Linked DNA regions of Homo sapiens: region 2 is linked to region 1. Evidence: promoter capture Hi-C in 16 types of primary human blood cells and fetal thymus (Javierre and others, 2016). All regions are on one chromosome and are shown on one strand. The core of a region is centred on a gene start or on the middle of the fragment in contact, and the rest is flanking DNA. Distances in the headings are between cores, read along the strand shown. Region 1 holds the start of HINT3 (histidine triad nucleotide binding protein 3). Region 2 has its middle 12 kb from the start of CENPW.

Evidence for each region. The method cuts DNA at HindIII sites, captures the fragments that hold promoters and counts their contacts. A CHiCAGO score of 5 or more calls a contact.
Region 2: a fragment that was not itself captured here is called in contact with the fragment with the promoter of HINT3 in region 1 in 1 of 17 cell types (fetal thymus); the score reaches 5.1 in fetal thymus.

Annotation. Positions count from the first base shown.
Region 1 is chr6:125,955,008-125,959,286 of GRCh38, forward strand. It overlaps HINT3 (histidine triad nucleotide binding protein 3), which reads left to right and starts at 1,763. Exons shown (of 5, transcript NM_138571.5): 1 at 1,763-2,171. The coding sequence starts at 1,971. RefSeq lists enhancers at 1,776-1,875, 2,936-2,985 and a silencer at 2,046-2,265. The HindIII fragment of the contact is 9,214 bases long and covers 1-3,068 here.
Region 2 is chr6:126,349,843-126,354,121 of GRCh38, forward strand. It overlaps a transcript of CENPW not described here. Among named protein-coding and RNA genes, the nearest start is that of CENPW, 12 kb to the left of the region's middle. The HindIII fragment of the contact is 188 bases long and covers 2,118-2,305 here.

The DNA.
Region 1 (4,279 bases), core at 513-3,012:
TTTTATGACTTGAGTTTATCTGTCTAGTGACTTTGCAGCTGCACAGCTAGAGAAACAGGGTCTTCACAATGCCTGGGAAAGGGAGAGATAAGGCTCACTAGCCACAGATAGAAAAACAGGCAGTTAATTTTTAAAGGACTCTACCTCTTTCTCCTCCTCAGGGGGAACTGGGTTTTCTTACATACAACTGAGTTTTTGCTTACATATTCTTTAATTCCTGTTCCAACTGTACTAGGCATTATGGAAGATTCACACACCCAATCTTGTTGCCAAGAAACATAATTCCTAGCAGGATAAATAAGTACATAAATAGCTATAAGATACAAAGAGACAAATCCTACAAGAGAAATATTGAAAACCTGTTATATGAATTTGCAAGAGGATGTGCTTATGTCAGTTTGGCTAAAGAAAATTTCATGAAGGAGGTAGCATTGGAGGGGTGGCTTGGAAGGTAGAATTTGGAGTGAAGAGATGGAAACAAGAATATTTGAGAGAGAACTGTGTGAATAAAAGCAGTGATGTGAAGGTGTAGTACAGGCATGGAAATTGTGAATACTAAAATTTGGCAAAACTCTAATGTATTGATTCTGAACTCTGCTTTGGGGTGCTGAAAGGCAGTGAAGCTATTGTAGTGGTTCCCCAAACTACGGGCCAACTACAAAAAGGAATGAAAAATGTCTTGAATGTATATGTACAACAATTCAAAACACATACAACCACTTTTTATTACAACATAAATCCATTAAAAATCATTACTGAATTCCCAATTTGTTATGTATTTTCTAAATCAGCAAATACCAAGGGTGTAACTACTATAGTGAGCTAGTCCAACAAATTTTTTGGTGTTAAAAAAGGAGTGCTGTATGTCAAAAAGGTTGGTGGGTTTTGGAGTTAGACAAACCTTGATCTTAAACTCTGTCACTATTAATTAGTTGTGTGGGACTGGGCAACTCTGAGTTTGGTCCTTCATCTCTAGAGCGGTGGTTATAAAACCAACCTTGCGTTTTTTGACAATTAGAGAAATATATGGCATGTTTTAGATGCTCAGCAAGTGGGAAGTATCACAAAACGAAAAGCTGAGGTCAAATCAGAGTCCACCTTGAACACCAAGCTAAGGAACTGGTACTTTTTCTTTGAGCACATAGTTACAGAAGGTTTTGTCTGAGTGACAGGAAAATCAATAAGTAAGTTAGAAGGTGATTGCGTTGGTCTAGGTGAGGCATTATGAGGCACTGGCATTGAATTTCTGGGATATTTCAGAGTATTGACTATAGGACTCCACATCTACTTGTATATGAGGAATGTGAGATTAAAAAAAAGGTCGCTAGTTTGATCTAACTGTGCTGTTAACAACAATAAAAAGTCAACAGAGATGTAAAGGTCAGTTTTGGACATTTTGAGTTTAAACTCCTACAATTATCGTGGCTGAAAAAGCAGCAAACATGATGTCTGTTGAAAACAAGGCTTTAGGAATTTTGCTCATTCTTTAAAAACCTACGAATTTTAAAAATCAAACTTTAAAAAACTTTTTGTTTTTTTTTTTAAAAAAACGGCAGCGTAATACAATATTTGGACACGCTATACTATGGGCTTTGAAGAACGCCTGTCCAGAACACCCAACAAGCTCCATTATGTCAAACGCTCCCGCGCCTCTGTGATGTCACCACGACGCGCTGGGCGCTCTGCGACTTGGCAGACGTCGTGCGTCATTACCAACGAGGCGCAGGGGTCAGGACGACTCTCGGCAGCGCCATTGCGCGCCCTCTAGTGGCAGCCGGTTTTGAGGCCGGCCTCCGGCTTTGAAGTTCCTCACCGCGTCTCCTTCCCTCTCCCCAAAGCCTGGATCACCGCCCAGCGTCAGGCGAGGGGCGACGTCTCGAGGTAAAACGGAGGAGGTGCGGGACGCGGAGACTGCGCGGGCCCGGTAGCCCTGGAGAGGCCGAGGCTCTAGGCCGCGAGGGGCGGGTGCAATGGCGGAGGAACAGGTGAACCGCAGCGCCGGCCTGGCCCCCGACTGTGAGGCCTCGGCGACTGCAGAAACTACGGTTTCCTCAGTGGGGACCTGTGAAGCCGCTGGCAAGTCACCAGAGCCCAAGGACTACGACAGCACCTGCGTGTTCTGCCGGATCGCGGGGCGGCAGGACCCGGGCACCGAACTCCTGCACTGCGAGGTGGGCGGCGACGCGCGGCCGGGGGTGGGTGAGGACCTGGCCGCCCCTCGGAGCTCCGGCAGGGAGGCCTCGCCGTTGTGGAGCGGGTGCAGAGGATCCCGATCGCTACTCAGCTCGCAGAGGCAGGGCCGCTCTGTGTGGATGGGGCTCGGGGAAGCTGGGGATACGCCCACTACGGGCCTTTCTGCAGGGTCCGGGTGCTGATGACAGACTCACTCCTAGGGGACTGACAGGCAGTGGCTCCAGCGGTATCTTTGCTGTTCCCAGGGGCAAAGAGTGAATGACAGGGCCGAATGCTTTGGCCTATGTTTGCAGGTACCCAGGTAGTTGGTACAAATAACATTTTGTGGCCTCTGCTTTTATTACAAGGATTCTTCTCCACCTTCAAGATACTGATTTTAAATCCTGCACACTCTAATACCGATACTGATGAGAAAACTAGTAGAAAATAGGTAATGATAATTGTGGAAAGCTGTTTGTTAGATTGGCAGAAAATAGGCTGGAGGGAGTGGGTCTGAGGTCAAACTATTATTGAATTGCCTCTGAATTCCACTGTCAGTTGGGATGCGTGGACATTTTCAGAGCATGAAGACTTTGCCCAGATATTTTTAAACGGATAATCTGGCACACACTTTATTCTGTTGGTTTTACTTGTCCATATAGAAACAACTTTTTGAGAGAATTAGCTCCAAAGATTGTGTCTTTTGTAGTAAACATTCCTTTATTTTTTAAAAAATAAATATAATTCCTTCTAAGCACCTTGTTTTGGAGGTTTTTGAGCAAGATAAGGGACAGTCTGTGTCCCGATTTTACAATCTAAAGGGCGGAATGTATACAGAGGAGGTAGCCAGTTACAATGCCTCGTGCTGTGGTCAGGTGATTTTACAGTATTTTGTAAGCTTGTGGGAGGAGCATCTAACCCAGCTCTGAAGAATTAGGGAAGGCTTTCCAGAGGAAATGAGACATGAAGAAATAAGTAGGAGTTGATCAGATGAGGAAATGGAGAGAATAATGTCCCAGGTTGAGAGACCCCCCGAGAGGTTCAGTTTGTGTGATAGAAAAACTAACAGAAATTGTCTAACTAGTGCATAGAGTTTGAGAGGATGAAAGGCGAGGCTGGAGAGGTAAACAAGGGACCAGATTATTAAGTGTGTTGGAAGTCATGTGAAGGAATTTGTCTTTATCTGAAGAGCAAAGTGAAACTTCACAATGTTTAATGGTGGGTTGGGAGGAAGATGTTGCGGAGTTATAGGAAGGGGGTTGATCTTTGAAAGGTCATTCTGGCATCATTGTGGAGAATGATTTGGAGGAGACCAGTCTGGAGGTATGGAGACCCGTTAGAAGGCTAGTAGATTAATCTACCCTGATGATGGCCTGAAATGAGAATGTGGTAGAGGAGATTATGAAAAGTATATCAATTTAAGGGATACAGTATTCAGGAGGTAAAACAGGGAGGACTTGATGGATACAGGTCAGTGATTCTCAACTGGGGGCAATTTTGCCCTCCCAGGGTACATTTTGCAATGTATTGAGATACTTTTGATTGTAACAACTTCTGGCACTTCTAGGGGTTGCTTCTGGGACCTAAATAATGGATAAAAGCCAGGGTTGCTATTAACATGGTACAGTGCACAGGACAGCACCCCCACCACCCCATCAACACACACACATAAAACAGGCTTATCCAGCCCTCAAAATGTCAGAAGTGCCAAGGTTTAGAAACCCTGATTTAGATATAAGAGGATAAGGAAATGAAAGAGGGTGAAGTCAAAGATGATTTCCAGGTTTCTGGCTAGGGTAAACTAGTAGTGGTGGTACCATTTCATTAAGCTCGGGAACACAGGAGGAGAAAAGATGGCCAGGGGAGTGGTGGGAGGTAGCAAAGCGATGAGTTGAGCTATGGAGTTGTGGAGTTTGAGGTGAGTTTGAGGCATCTAAGTAGAGATGTCTTTTAAATGGTTGGATAGTCTAGCACTCTGTAGAGGGATCTGTATCTCTAACCCAGATTACAGGAACTGTCGGTTTATAGATGGAAACTGAAAAAGAAGGGAAGCGATGAGATCACCCATGAGGTAAAAAGTGAAGGGGAGGCCTACACAGAACTCTGA
Region 2 (4,279 bases), core at 962-3,461, 400 kb after region 1:
GCCTAATTTTTATTTATTTTTTTTAAAAGACTGAATCTTGCTGTGTCACTTAATCTGGAGTGCAGTGGTGTGATCATAGCACACTGCAGCCTCAAACTCCTGGGCTAAAGTTATCCTCCTTTAGCCTCCTGAGTAGCCTCCTTCTTGCACCTGGGATCACAGGTGCAAGCTGCTGTGTTCGGTTGGCTCAGGTTTAATTTTTTAAAAAGAAATGGCCAAATGATTTTCCAGGGTGGCTGTACCATTTTACATTTCCATTAGCAGTGTATGGGAAATCCACTTTCTTAATATTCTCACAAATATTTGGTAATGTTACTATTTTTTAGTTTAGCTGTTCTGGCAAGAATATGCAGCATTGTGGTTTTAATTTACATTTTCCTGATGGCTAATGTCTTAGTTTAGGCTGGTATAATGAAATACCATGCACTGGATAGCTTATAGATAACATAAATTTTTTTCTCACAGTTTTGATGGGCGGAAGGTCTGAGATCATGGTGCCAGCACAGTCAGGTTCTGGTGAGGGTCCTCTTCTGAGTTGCAGACTGCTAACTTCTCATTCTGTCCTCATACGGAGGAAAAAAGGCCAGAGAGCTCTCTGCCTCCTTTTAAAGGACATTAATCTCATTTATGACGACTTTATTCTCATGACCTAATTACCTCCCAAAGGTCGTTCCTCCTAATACCATCACACTGGTGATTAGATTTCAATGTAAGAATTTTGGGGGACACAAACATTTAGTCCATAATAGCTGATGATGAACATATTTTCGTGTGCTTATTTGCCATCTGTATATTGACTTATACATTTTTATACTTTAATGAGATATAAGGGAAAGAATACCTGTGTGGTCAGTCTTGAACAGAAAGCCTCATGGATTCATAGTTCAGCATAATATAGTAATACATATATGTTTCCAAATTAGTAATTTTTTAAAGCATTAATGTGAAAAAATTTAAATCTTATTTGTAATGTAAGTATACATGTTTAACATAAAATTATATTCTGAACAAAAATAGTTATAAATAAATAGGACTTCTCAAGAGAATGTAAATTTGAAAAAAAACAACTAGAATATGTAGTTAATGCTGAATAGTTCTTTAAATGTAATTAATATCAAAATGTTATTTTTCCTTCAAGAGCTGGACTAGGGAATTTTGGTTTTAAGACAGAACTAATGTGCTCAGAGGTAATGTCTTTTTTTTTTTAATGATGTTTTCCCCATATTTTCTATCTCTTATATAGTGATAGTTAATCCCACTGCCTTGTTCCTGAAACAGGCAAGGTGGAGGAGAAAGAGAGAGAGTGAGTGTGTGTGTGTGTGTGTGTGTGTAAGTGGAGTAGGATGAGGGAAGTTGCTAGAGTCAGTAGAAGTAGGTGATATTATCCGTGTGATACCACACAGCCAAAAGCCTCCTTTTGGGTGACTTTTGTGATACCTGTGTGATACCCAAAAGCCTCCTTTTGGGAGGCTTTCTTGTAGATAGGAATTTTGCTGTTTTGGTAAAAAATTATAACTCCAGCATTTTCATGTTGGGGAGTTAGAGACTGAACTAAACCAAAGTCAAAATGAGGATAGTAATAGTGATATGATAAATGTATTGGCTTGTTTTCTGTGTCGTCTGGGGTGTTTATATGCCACATACTTCCCTACCTGACTTAGAAAAGAAAGAGAATCTAGAATGTGGAGTTTATTAGAGGTGGGGGAAGATGTGTTTATTAGATTAACTGCATTTTTTTCTGGATGTTGAAGAGAGTCAGTGAGACCTTGAACAAGTAATTTAACTGGAGCCTTAGTTTCCCCATGTGTACATTTAGTAACTACTGTTTTTGGCCACATATTTTCCTTTTTGGGAAAATCAGGGTGACTTCAGTTTTGGCTTCATGGTTATGGGTGGTCTATATCTCAACTGTGGGTTTCATTTTTTTTTTTCTTTAAAATCCTCAACCTCATTTGAGGTCTTGATTGATGAACATGAGATGGGTATGAGACCTTAAGATGGATATTTAGTTCTTCTTCCTCAGTATTTTAATCTTGACAATCAATATAGCACCTTGTGGCTGTAGGTAAGTTTAATAACAGTATACTCCCTAGGTCAGTGGTTTTCAAGCTTTACTAAGCTTCAAAATCACCTGGAAGATTTGTTAAAATAAAGATTGCTCATGGGGATTCTGATTCTATTTAGGTGGGAGCTGAGAATCTGTATTTCTAGCAGGTAGCCAGGTGATGCTAGTGTTGCCATCCAGGGGCCATGCTTCCGAGAACAACTGTTCTAGATCACAGGTTGGCAATATTTTTGTAAATAAAGCTTTATTGGAACACAGGCACACATGTGCTGCTTATCTGTGGCTGTTTTCTTACTACAACTTAGGGTAGTGTTGAGTTGTTGCAGCAAATACTGTGTCCTGCAAGCCAAGTTACTTAGTATCTGACCCTTTACAGAAGAAGTTTGCTGACCCCTGTGTTAGATAATTCTTGCCCTAACCTCTGTATTTTGCTTTTACTTGAGTTGCCAAAATGGCAAAAGAGGGATTGATACTCTAGAGGCTTTTTATTTATATTAGCTACACTGAAGTATGACACTTCTGATTGAATTTAGTGAGGGATAGAGTTTTGAGATACTCCAGTTATCACCAGTAAAACAACTATTTACATTGTTTTCTTGAGATATTATCATCTCTAATCCATGTTGCTTGTATTTCCTTTTTGAAGGAATCTACCTTACTGAGACTTGGCATTTCCTGTTTCCAACTAGCTATAAGAGTTTTGTTTGGTTAGCATTTGTATGATATATATCTTCCATCATGATGCTTACAAACATCCTGCATCCTTTAAAGTGTGTCTCATAATCAGTGTATATTTGGGTTTTGTGTTTTCATCTTATCTGGTAGTCTTAGTAATTGGAATTTGCAGTCCATTTACATTTAATGTAATTACTGCTACATTTGGTTTCTATTATACATTTTACAATTTGCTGGTGTATGTGACCCAGCACCTTTTTCTTTCTGCTTTTATTTTCTTTTGAATTAACTTTTATGATTCATTTTATTCTTTATTACTCTAGTTATACATTCTTATACTAGGAATTATAACATGCATCATTGACTTGTTATATCCTCTATCAATCTGCTATTTATATAAACTTTTACTAAAGATTATAATCTGCACTGTTGACTATTTCTAGAACCTTAGAAGGCTTTAATGCCATTTACTTGCTGCCTTTTGATTATTTTAATTTTACATTTGTTAAACCAACCATATAGACACAAATGTATTACTAGTATGACTTGGTACTGTCACTACTAAGTGAATATTTATATTATCACATTTACCGTTTTCTTTGCTGATCATTTCTTTAACAATTTTATATTTCCCTATGGGATCTTTTTTTTTTTTTAACAACCCGAAGAACTCTCTTTACTATTTTCCTGTAGTAACTGTTTCTTGGTAGTACATTTCCTGTTTTCTTTTTTTTCTGATAGAATATTTCACTTTAAACTTGAAAGATATTTTCATCAGATAGGAAAGTCTAGATTGCCTATTATAGCAAATAATGTTAAAATGTCATTTTATGTCTTCAGGCTTCTCTCATATTTTTAGAAGTTAGGCTTATAGAGGGTAATATGTCTTTTTTAAAAAAATCTGTTGCTAAAGGTTTTTCTTTCTGGTTTTCAGCAATCTTGCTATGATTCATTTTCCTAGGATTTGTCTTTTTTGTTGTTGTTTCCCTTTTTATTCTGCTTGGGGTTCCTGCCTGAACTTTCTGATACCATAGGATGGTGTTTTTCTTCAGTTTGGGAGATTCTTGGCCATTCTCTTTTCATGTGTTGCTTCTGCCCCATTTTCTCTCTCCTGTTCGAGATTCTAATTATGTATTATTCTTAGATGTTTGATTATGTCACACATTATCTCTTACACTCTTCCATTTTTCCCATTGAATTTTTTCTCTGTCTTTTAGTTTGGCTATTTCTGTTGACTTGTCTTTTATTTCACTAATTTTCTCATCTGTTTCATCTGCTCTCAAACATCTAATGAGTTCTACATTTCAGATCATGTGTATGTGTATTTTTTTCCTTGCATGCCTACAGTTGATTAAAGATTTTTATTAATATTCTCTGAGGAAATTCTTAATTGTTTTATCTATCTTTTTCTTGTTTCTTAGACATATTAATTATATTTATTTTCACGTAATTATCAACTAATTCCAATATTTGGAGTATCTGTTTTTTTTTCTTGGCTTTTGATCATGTAGTACTGTCTTTTGGCATTACTAATAAATT